Regions from separate parts of the Homo sapiens genome. Here region 1 is linked to region 2. Evidence: promoter capture Hi-C in 16 types of primary human blood cells and fetal thymus (Javierre and others, 2016). All regions are on one chromosome and are shown on one strand. The core of a region is centred on a gene start or on the middle of the fragment in contact, and the rest is flanking DNA. Distances in the headings are between cores, read along the strand shown.

What was found. Contacts are between HindIII fragments. The CHiCAGO score rates a contact against its expected background, and 5 or more counts as called.
Region 1: a contact is called between the fragment with the promoter of ZNF229 here and the fragment with the promoter of ZNF285 in region 2, in 2 of 17 cell types (neutrophils and erythroblasts). The highest score is 7.2, in neutrophils.

The regions. Positions count from the first base shown.
Region 1 is chr19:44,444,144-44,449,814 of GRCh38, reverse strand. It overlaps ZNF229 (zinc finger protein 229), which reads left to right and starts at 1,343. Exons shown (of 6, transcript NM_014518.4): 1 at 1,343-1,506; 2 at 2,215-2,302. The HindIII fragment of the contact is 11,359 bases long and covers 1-5,671 here.
Region 2 is chr19:44,399,950-44,405,946 of GRCh38, reverse strand. It overlaps ZNF285 (zinc finger protein 285), which reads left to right and starts at 4,339. Exons shown (of 4, transcript NM_152354.6): 1 at 4,339-4,379. RefSeq lists an enhancer at 4,186-4,942. The HindIII fragment of the contact is 3,728 bases long and covers 959-4,686 here.

The DNA of each region.
Region 1 (5,671 bases), core at 94-2,593, 47 kb before region 2:
AGAATTTATCAAAACAATTCGATAATCTGTTTATAAGAGAGAGTTCTAGAACTTCTAGGATGAAATTTTTGAAACACAACAAGGAGGGAGAGATAAGGAAATGAGTTATCACTGTAACTGAAACCTTTCATCATGGCACAGAAAAAGCAATCTCTATCTTCAGAACACACTTGTATCCCAGAAAATATTTCATTATATATATAGTAATGTAGTAAGTGATTAGGATGCCGTTTAAATCAGAAAGGAAAGAATTAATATTTATGTAAATTTTGTTAAGAAAAGTAGACAATCCTTTGGTGAAACAGGAAACTCCATCTTCCTTTCATATCATACACTTAAATGAATCACGCGGTGATTCAAAAGAAAAATGAAAGAGCCTGAAATGAATATAGATATGCACTTATTGGGAATCAGGCTAAGGAATGTCTTTTTGGTCATACTGGAGAAAAAAAAGAAGCCACAAATGAAAAGACTGATATACCTTGTCAGATGAAGTTTTTTGTTTTTTTTTTTTTCTAAACTACTTTATAAATGTTGAAACTGGGGGAGCAATTCATCACTTAGAAGCGATATCATTCATACACAGAGAGTGTATGACAATAAAAGATGACAATGAAATGCAATCGGTAATAAGCATATTTACTCTGTCAAATTGGGAAAATAAGACAGGATATTTAGTCCATCAAATTGGGAAAATATTAAAGAAAGTGATTGTGTGTAGTTTTGATATCATAAAATTAGAAGTGTAAGTTCAATGCAGGACAAAGGGGTAACTTCCCTAAAAACTAAAGAATGCTAGGCAAGTATTGCAAATAATTTGTGTTTTTTTATTATCTCTATGTATCTCTACGTCTTTTGTGACATACAGAACTATCCACGATATATGACCTGTGGCAAGAAATGATTACAAAATATTATGATGCCATTTGGGAAATGGGATTCTTAAGAATTCATATTTACTCACATAAACCAGGGATTAAGTAAGAATTTTTTTTAAACCATTCTTTACATGTAATATGAACTACTTTTGAAATAAATATTTAGTTGGCTTTTACACCAGAAAATCAATAATGCTTTATATCCCTGGTGATGGGATGATGGGCTTGTTTGAGAATATAGTCAGGTTTGCTACAACGCGAATATGTTAGTACTGAGTAAAGACATTCTTTTCAACTCAGAAACACCTTGCATGCCGCCTCCCGCCGCCTCGCAGTGGGCGTGACTCGAGGTGGACGCGCATTTACGACACCATCGCCCCTAGGATCGGACTGCGCTGCGGAGGGTTCTGGGAAAGGTAGTCCCACACCTCGAGTCGACTACTTCCGTTTCCGGTGGGCGCGTCACCTTGATTGCTTCTTAGGCAGTGGTGAGGCGTCTTAGAGACGTGCATCTCCATGCGGTTGTACTGTCAGGCCATGGGAATTAGGATCGGCTCTATAGGACCAGTGTGAAGGGACAACGTGCGGCGGAGGGTCGAAGCCCACGGATTTCCATGAGCTCGGCCTGGTGAGGCAGGGGTGTAAGGAGGCGCACGTATCGAACATTCTGAGCGCCTGTGCGGGGTGGGCCCGGGTCGGCAGCCCTCGCAGTCCAGGCTTGGAAAAGCAGTTTGAGGCCAGCTCTGGCTTTGAGATGAGATCTGCAGTGCGGGAGACTCCACTGTGTCAGTTGCGGATCGATGACATGAATTTTCTCAGGGTAGCCGCCCACCCACTTGTGGAGTAATTTCAGAGTTTTCTGCGAAGTCATTTCTGTAAACAGGAAGTTGATTCCCTGTGTTCTAATTTTATCCTTTGAAATGTATTAAGCGCTGTGCAAGTCCTAGGAGTTGGTTTGCTGTATCGTTGCTGGCTCTGCTTTTTGTAGCCGCCTAAGCACACACAGGCAGAATTTCACTTGTAAGTGTCCCACAGCATGTGACAGTCAGCTCTGGATTAAAATCTTGAGATTTTGTCTTGATTCTCCTTGTCTCCTGAAAGGGGCAGTGAAAGTAGGCTTGTAGACGGTTTCTTTGGGCATCAGGAATGGCGTGTCCCTTGTACTCTGAGTCCTGTAGGAAGAGAGGTTCTTTTCCTCGGCTCCTGAAGCAAGTAGCGAGGGTAGATTACAGGAAGGGGTAGATTACATCCAGCTGGCACTGAGAGATTTCCCCCTGTGGCGTGGTGGGAATTGGGATTAAATCATGTTATCCTGCTGTTCATTTTTCTTTCACAGGCTTCCTTCTTGGAATTGTTCGTTTCTCGGAGATAATTGTATAAAAGAAGGAGAAATAACCCCACATCTCTTGACACTAGAGCTCCAGGTGAGTGAACTTTGGTTCTCTTTTGTGGCAATGCCAGGTCTCTTGGTGACCTCATTCTTCATCCCATTGATATCACAAATGTTCATTCAGACCCCTTAGCCACACCTGCCTTCCCCTAGAAATGGGGGAGGTTTGAGGAATTTCCCAGTGTCTTTATTTAGTGTATTCTCTTCTTGGCTCCTAGTAGTGTGTCACTGGGTCAGTAAAGGCTTACACTGTTTCAGCGCCATGCTGAAGAAACGCAGGGTAGAAATAATTAGAGTAACTGTGATGGTGTATATTAACTGAGTGCTTACTATATGCCAGGTATTATTTATCCATGGTGTCTAGGACAGTGCCAGGCTTGCCAATAAATATTTGAATAAATGAATGTATTTCTATTGAATTTTCTGAGCAAGTTTGTATGTTAGCTATTATCCCCATGTCACAGATGAGTTGCTAAGGTTTAAAAAGTTAAAAAAACTTAACAGGTAAGACCTGGCCAGGAGACCTTCTAAACAGAAACCAGGTCTTTGCGCTTATGCTTCCTTCTGGACTTGTCTCATCCCAGCTTTTTTCACAGCTGATTTATTTGTCAGGCAGCTCTTAGAGACTGTCCCTGACCACCTGATTTAATGTTGCTCTTTCCACAGCTGCCACATATGTTCACCTGATAGCACCTACATTCTTGTTGGAAAACAGGAATCTATCATGTTTGCTTTATTTTCTTCATAGCCCTTTTTGCAACCAAAGGTCACCTAATTTGTAGAGAGATTAACCCACCCGAAAGTAAGCACCATGAGAACAATTACCTTTTCCATCTTAATTTACTGCTGTATGTCTAGTGTTTATTCTCCTAAGATGTTGTTAGACACTGAATGTACATTTACTAAATGCATGAGTTCCTGTATTCCTAGGTTAATGCTGGGTTGGGTCAATGGTAATAGTATATTGATGATTTTCTGTGTACCACGTACTGGGCTTTGAAGTTTATTCACATAGGCATGTGTGTGTGAAAGAGAGAAAAACTTAAATTATTTTAGTTTTGCAAGTAAGGATTATCTTTATTTGACAGAAGTACAGACTCATTCAAAAGGTTAAGTCTCTCCTGTGGTGTTAATATAACTACAAAGTGGCTGAACCAGAATTCGAACCTAAACCTTTTGATAACTCCAGTTTTGAGAAACTAGAGCTGCAATTTTCAAAACCCTGCTTTCCCTTTTGCTATCTTATTATTTTATCATAACTTCATAATTTACCTGTTTTCCTCAGACTTCAACCTCAGAATCATATTTATTTCTCCTCCTCTTCATCCCTACATGGAATTATTCTTTTAGTTTTGTTATTTCTACCTCTGCAATTATCTCTTATTCCCATTACTTCTTTGTCCCACTGCCTTTGTACCAACTCTTTCTGTCACCCTCTTTCTCCCCCAATGTGAGCTCCATGCAGTCCAGAAATGTATCCTAAGCACATGGAACACAGTAGATATTCATTATGGCTGCTGATTTCCACCTAGAATGTTAGCAGCTGCATGAGCACAGAGTCGTTGTCTGCCCTGTTCACTCTTGGGTCCCAACACAGCCAGCATAGTCCTTAGCACCCAAATTACTAAGTCCATGAACTGGAGAAGAAAATCACTTCTGCTGTGAAGATGACATCAAGAGGACCCAAGGATCCATATCAGCAAGCTGAGTTCAGGTTACTCCCGTTCTCCCATTTAAATATTTATTGAGCACCTGCTGTGTGCCAGGTGCCAACTGAAATACTGGCCCTCATAGAGTTCACATTCTTGTGGGTGGAGAAAGATGGTCAACAAGAAAAATAGACTGTAGGTAGGGTGTCAGTTTCATGGAGAAAAATGAAGCAGAGGAGGGTGTAGGAAGTGCTGGTTTGCCAATTTGAGAAGGATAATGAGGGATGAATTTCACTGAGAAAATGGTGCTTGAATAGGGACCCAAAGCAGGTGAGGGGCCTGCAGGCATCTGATGAAAAAGGCAAAGAGAACAACACGAAGGCCCGGTGATGAGGGCATGTGAAGAACAGCAAGGAAGCCAGAGCTGAGCAGAATGAGAAAGAGGGAGGATAAGTGGGAAACTGAATATTGGGAAGGAAGATAGTGTAAGGTCTTTGGGCCATTGAAAGGACCTTGGTGCAAGGTTTTGAGTAAAATGATGGTTTTGGCCAGAGAAGAATATGAGTTTATATTTTTAAAAGATCACTCCAGCTGCTGTGTAGGAAGTAGACTGAAACGAACAGGAGTAGGAATGCAGAGGCCATTTAGGGGGCTGTCACGTTAATGCAGGTGAGACATGATGGTGTGGACGGTGGCAGCAAGAATAATCTGATTCTGGTTCTGATTTGTAGGTATTTGCTGATGGATTGGATGTAGAGTACGAGGAAGAAATCAAGGATGACTAGAATATTTCCTCTTCATTTCAAAGGAGAGAAGTACCTCTAGGGGCAAATCTGGACTTTTCTTTTGAACATGTTTTTTGAGTTGCTTTTTAGACATAAGAGTGGAGATGGCAGGTTGCCATGGAGTCATCAGTGTGTAGATTGTGTTGAAGGCCTGAGGCTGGATATGTTCACCAAGGGAGTGAAAGAAGATAGAGAACTTTATGTGCTGACTCTTGAGGCTTCCTGACCTGAAGAGTTCAGGGATAGGAGGAGGAAGCACAAGGAAAATTTTTACCCACCGGAAGTCTCTGGAAACCCTGAAAATCAGCCAGTCAGAGGAAGTGAGGGTAACTTAGCAAGTTTGCTTCAGGTGTGGCCCCTGGACTCACTTTGTCAGCATCCCCTGGAAACGTTTAAAACACAGACTCCTGGGCTCTACTGCAGAGATACAGAATTAGAATCTTTGGAGCTGGACTCTAGCAGTCTGTTTTCATCATTGCTCATGGTGATTTTTAAACATACTGAAGTTTGCAAAGCGCAGTCCTAGAGGATCCTGAAGTTTGAGTTTAAGTGGCATTGCGGTGGAGGCCTTGTTTCAGATCTGGCCTCTACTCTTCCCTTTGTCCTTTGTGTAGGAGGGTAGCGTGTTGCCTGGTTGTCCACACCTGGGTCAAAGGGCAATCCCCAGTTCAGGGCAGTGCATGAAGGGAGGGAGAGAGAAAGATGCTTGTCACTGTGGGCCATGCAGAGGGCTGGTACAGATGGTTAGAGGAAAGAAGGAGATTTGAGTTCCTGAAGCAGTAAAATCCAGTGAGTGTCCTAGAGTAGACAGCCCAAGTATGTGTATCTGTTTGTCTGAACTTGACCTTGAGACTTGAATTTCAAGAGGAAAGAGGCCAGGCAAGGTGGGGAAGGGTGGAAACTCATGTCCACTGTCTTTGCACTACCTCCCGAGTAGCTCTGAGCAGATTGTAAGAGTTTTGTTCAATC
Region 2 (5,997 bases), core at 3,090-5,589:
GTTGTTGTTTTGTTTTTTTTGTTTTTTTTTTTTGAGACAGAGTCTCGCTGGGTCACCCAGGCTGGAGGGCAGTGGTGCGATCTCGGCTCACTGCAGGCTCCGCCTCCCAGGTTCACACCATTCTCCTGCCTCAGCCTCCTGAGTAGCCGGGACTACAGGCCCCCGCCACAGCGCCAGGCTAATTTTTTGTATTTTTAGTGGAGACGGGGTTTCTCCGCCTTAACCAGGATGGTCTCGATCTCCTGATCTTGTGATCCACCCGCCTCGGCCTCCCAAAGTGCTGGGATTACAGGCGTGAGCCACCGCGCCCAGCCTGAATAGGAGGTCTTTTCCTCACTTTATGTTTTTGTTTGTTTTTTCAAATATCAGTTGGCTGTAAGTATTTGGATTTATTTCTGGGTTCTCTATTCTGTTCCATTGGTCTTTGTACCTATTTTTATACCAGTACCATGCTGTTTGGGTGGCTACAACCTTATAGTATAGTTTGAAGTCAGGTAATGTGATGCCTCCAGACTTGTTCTTTTTACTTAGTCTTGCTTTGGCTCTGCGGGCTCTTCTTTGGTTCCATATGAATTTTAGAATTGTCTTTTCTAGTTCTGGAAAGAATGATGGTGGTATTTTGATGGAACTTGCATTGAATTTGTAAACAGCTTTTGGCAGTATGGTCATTTTTACAATATTGATTTACCCATTCATAAACATGGGATGTGTTTCCATTTGTTTGTGTCATCTATGGTTTCTTTCAACAGTGTTTTGTAGTTTTCCTTGTAGAGAGGTCTTTCACCTCCTTGGTTAGAAATATTCCTATGTATTTTTTGTTGCAGCTGTTGTAAAAGGGGTTGAGTTCTTGATTTCATTCTTAGCTTGGTTGCTTTTGGTGTACAACAGAGCTATGATTTGTGTACATTAATTTTGTATCCTGAAACTTTGCTGAATTCATTTATGAGTTCTAGAAGCTTTTTGAAGGAGTCTTTAGGGTTTTCTAGGTATATGATCATATCATCAGCAAACAGCAGCAGTTTGACTTTCTCTTTACTGATTTGATTGTTTCTTTCCCTCCTTTTATTTGATTGAGGTTATTGTTGTTCATTTTCTTTCCTTTAGAGCAGTGATTTTCAAGGGGTTACTGTTGGGTATTTGAATGGATGACTTCTTTGTTGAGAGAATTAATTTACAAGTGCAATATGTTTAGCATTCCTTACCTCTGCATACTAAACACATACCCCAGTCACTGGAGCAAGCAAAGATCACTCACACAATTCAAAAAAGTCTTAGGGAGGCTATTTCATTCCTGTTTGAGGGTCACTGTTCTATTTTTTCAGACATAAGATCTCATGCTGTCACCCAAGCTGGAGTACAGTAGCACCATCATAGCTCACTACACCCTGAACCTTCCAGGCTCAAGCCATCCTCCCACCTCAGCTGCTTGAGCAACTAGGATTACAGGCCAGATTCACTGTTCTACAGTTGGGAAGTATGAGCAGCTCCTAGATCAATTATACAAGAGCTTTCTCTTTTGTTCTTAACACACCCATTTAAGTGTGGATTTTCAGACTAAAGCCAAGCTCTTAGATTAGGTAAAAGTAACATTTAAAAATAACTATAATAATAAAGAGTATATAAATAATAAGGTAAAGAAATATACTAATTTTAAGACAAAATGAAAGAATAAATACTAGATGAAATCTAATGAAAAGAAAGCAGGTACAGTCTTCACTGAAAAGTAAACTCAAGGTGAAAATACAAAATACTTAAAATTGTTAACGAAATTTTTGGCCCATCAAGAAGATATGAACATTATGAAACTTACACAGGGTCAGCATCACTAAATTTTAAAATCCAAAATGTTTCACAATCTAAAACTTTTGGAATGTGAACATGACACCACAAGTGGAAAATTCCACACCTGAAGTATTTGCTTTCTTTCTGTTCTTTTCATTGATTTTTCTTTGGTCATCTGACGAAGGCAATCTTTGCTTCTGATGGTTCAATGCACACAAACATTGTATACAAACCTTGTGAACAAAATTATTCAAAATAATTCTATAAAATTAATTTCAGGCTACATGTATAAGGTTTATATGGAACACAAATGAATTTTGCATTTAGACTTGGGTCTCATCCTCAAGATATCTCATTACGTATATGCAAATATTGCAAAATCTGAAAAAAATAAAATATCTGAAACACTTCTGGTCCCAAGTATTTCAGATAAGGAATACAACACTTCCATACCTAACAACACAACTTTTAAAAAGTAAAGCCATTTGTATACCTAGTAACTTGACTTTTGAAAAATGAAGCAGGCTGGGCATGGTGGCTCACGCCTGTAATCCCAGCACTTTGGGAGGCCGAGGTGGGCAGATCACAAGGTCAGGAGATGGAGACCATCCTGGCTAACACGGTGAAACCCTGTCTCTACTAAAAATACAAAAAAATTAGCTGGGCCTGGTGGCGGGCACCTGTAGTCCCAGCTACTCGGGAGGCTGAAGCAGGAGAATGGTGTGAACCTGGGAGGCAGAGCTTGCAGTGAGTTGAGATGGCGCCACTGCACTCCAGCCTGGGCAACAGAGCGAGACTCAGTCTCAAAAAAAAAATAAAGGAAATAAATAAATAAATAAATAAATAAATAAATAAAGCAAATGCTATAGAGAGGAAAATGACAAATTTACCATTATAGGCTTTTTTTTCTTTCACTTTTTTCTTTTTTCTTTTTTTTTGGTGACAGAGTCTTGCTCTGTCGCCCAGGCTGGAGTGCAGTGGCATGATCTCGGCTCATTGCAACCTCCACCTCCTGGGTTCAAGTGATTCTCTTGCCTCAGCCTCCCAAGTAGCTGGGACTACACGTGCTTGCCACCATGCCTGGCTAAGTTTTGTATTTTTAGTAGCGATGGGGTTTCACCACCTTGGCCAGGCTGGTCTTGAACTCCTCACCGCGTGATCTGCCCACCTCGGCCTCCCAAAGTACTGAGATTACAGGCTTGAGCCACCACGCCCAGACTGGGAACCTTTTTGACATGCACTTTTCAATCGTTGACAGATGCATAATGAAAAAATCTAAGTAAGCACAAATAAGCATGTAGGAAATTTAAATAGCACAGTTAGCAAGTCTGGGGAAAATATAAATGTATGCATATCCATCTGATAGAGAAGACACATTGTTTTCCAACAGACACAGATGTCACAAAAATTAACCTTGTATTAGGTCAAAAATAAAAATGTTCCTGAACTCGTTTTTTAAAATTCAAGTATGTCAAATTAAATCAAGTAATCCTTCAACTTAGAGCAATATATAAGAACATCAAACATGTAAACATCAAAAGACAGAGATAAGCCAAAACAATTGCACTGTCCCTTTATGTGCCCTAAGCTGCGATGTCAAGCTATAGTTGGATATTATTCAACCATTTCCTGCCCATTGCGTAGAGGTGGGGGTCTTCACTTCTCTATCTAGTCTAGGACTGGAACCGCCTCACCACCCCTACAGCTTGAGGGTGCGTGGAAAAGGGAATGCCAGCCAGATATTCCAAACAGAGACTCTGCCAGCAGGACCAGGTGACCTTTCCTAGGAGACAGATTGTTCTCACACGTTATCAGGGCTTTCCTCCAGGCTAAAACTGTGGGCCTCTAATGGAATTCCTATTCAATTTTCTTACCCCATTTAGGGTACCCAAATTTTTCTTTAATAGAAATCTTAAATCTTAAATGCAATAACATGAAGTAAAATAAAGCCTAAGTCTCAACAAGGGCAAATTTTCAAAAAGAATCTGAAAACTTCCCGCGTTTTCTTGTTATGTTGTAATGTGTCTCTTTTAGGACACTCTCAGTACTCCTGCAATTCCCCTGTTAAGGATTCAGACAATAGTTGTTAATTCCTTCTGCTTCTTCTGAGACTAGGAAATAAATTACAGGGCTATGTTATATCGCAAGTGTAGATTATCCAGAGTTTTCATCAACAGAAATAAAACATGGTGGGGGGCGGGGAGGGAATTATTTAAGTGAGTGTTAATTGAAAAGTTTCGTGGTTTTAACGTTAAAAGACATGCCTATAAAATAAGAACTTATAAAAGTCTTCACTAAAACGGTAAAGTGCCCATTTCCAAGTAGTAAAATATTGAAACTTCTTTTCATCGTTGATAGTGATTTATTTAACATTTCATTATTTTATCGTTATTATGATTGTCGTTATTTTAGACGAATGCACGGAAGTCAAAGGACTTCCAAATGCACGGAAGTCAAAGGCCACCTTCACCAGGGTAGCCTTGCGAATGGCCACTGCTGCGCGCGGGGCTTTCTGGGGATTGTAGGCCATAGGCCTCCTTGCGCATGCGCCATGGTACTGGACGCACGCTGCGGGCGACATTGTTTGGGACGCTGGGGTGAGTCCCGTCTGTACCGCGCCCCTCTTGGAGGCGTAGCCAGGAGTAGGAGTGTAGGATGTGCAGCTGTGACCCGTCCCTGTGGACTGAAGTAGGAGGAGTGGAAGAGGGGACTGGTAACCAATGATAAGGCCTCGTAGGTGGGGTAGACTAGGGAAGTTCAGCGGCCCGACCTACCCGGGATAGGATGGGAAGAGCGTGGGCTCGAGCGTGGGCTCGGTTTGGGGAGCAGCCCTGGGTTTGACAAAACAGTGCATCTTCACGTTTCGTGACAGCGACTTGCGCTGTGCCTCCTCGGGTCGAAGCTTAGGGTCAGTCTTGGGATGTGCATCTCTGGATGAGGGCAGAGGGGCGCTGGCTCAGGGTTTTGGAGTAATGGCTGGACTGTGCGTCCCTGAATGGGATGAGGGATTTGCTTAAGCAGCTAGTCTCTGGATATAGAGGATGGCTTCGGCTGTTCTCGCTCAGTTTGGTGGGGGCGATTCTGGCTCAGCACCCCTAGGTTCTTGGATGGGGAGTTGTCTTGGGTCTGAACTCTGGATTTTGGCAGCTCTGACTCCATTGGGGCATTTATGACTTCAAGGCAGAGGTTCTGGCTTTTGGCAATAAAGAAACAACTCAGACTGTAATACTGTAATAACTCCAGAGTTTAATGTCACCGAATACATTTTGAAAAGAACTGTCCCAGGCCTGGCGCGGTGCCTCACGCCTGTAATCCCAGCACTTTGGGAGGCCAAAGTGGGCGGATCACGAGGTCAGGAGATCGAGACCATCCTGGCTAACACGGTGAAACCCCGTCTCTACTACAAAAAACAATTACAAAAAATTAGCCGGGCACGGTGGCAGGCGCCTGTAGTCCCAGCTACTCGGGAGGCTGAGGCAGGAGAATGGCGTGAACCCGGGAGGCGGAGCTTGCAGTGAGCTGAGATCACGCCACTGCACTCCAGCCTGGGCGACAGAGCCAGACTCTGTCTCAAAGAAAAAAGAAAAGAAAAGAACTGCCCCAAATTATTAACTCCATTCTCACCTCACATGCTGTGAGCCAGGGAGTAGGGACTTTGAGTATTATAAAGCACATTAGCAAATATAAGTTGTTAAATTACACTCAACAAATTTGAAGTTTGAACACTCTCTGTATATTTGATAAAGTTAGAGATTTAGTGTTAATTATTTTAGGTGTAATAGCAGCATTTATTACATTTCTGATCGTGTTTCTGGGCAATTGCAGTTCCAGATTCAGCTGCACTTTTCCTCTAGGTCTTCATTCCCTGAAGAAGTTGATATGGGCATCTGGTCTCATTCCTGATGCATTCCTCAGATCAGAGTAGTTGTCAGGGTGAGGGATGAGAAAGGCATTTGTGTGCGAGAGCTGTGTGGACTTTGGCAGATAGGGAAAAAACAAGAGTCTTGAGGTGCCATGTGTCCCATGCCTTTGGCTCCCCACCTTTTCCACCCTGCTGTCTGCCCTGAAAGGCCGCCATTGCCTTCTGGCCTTGCTTGTCTTTGGCCAATGGGAAGTCTCAACAGGAAAGTTTGGAGAGAGGAAGAAGTGTGAGTTGGAGTATCTTGTCCCCCAGTTCTCTCTCTGCAGGATTGTCACAGATTAGCTGCCCTTCTA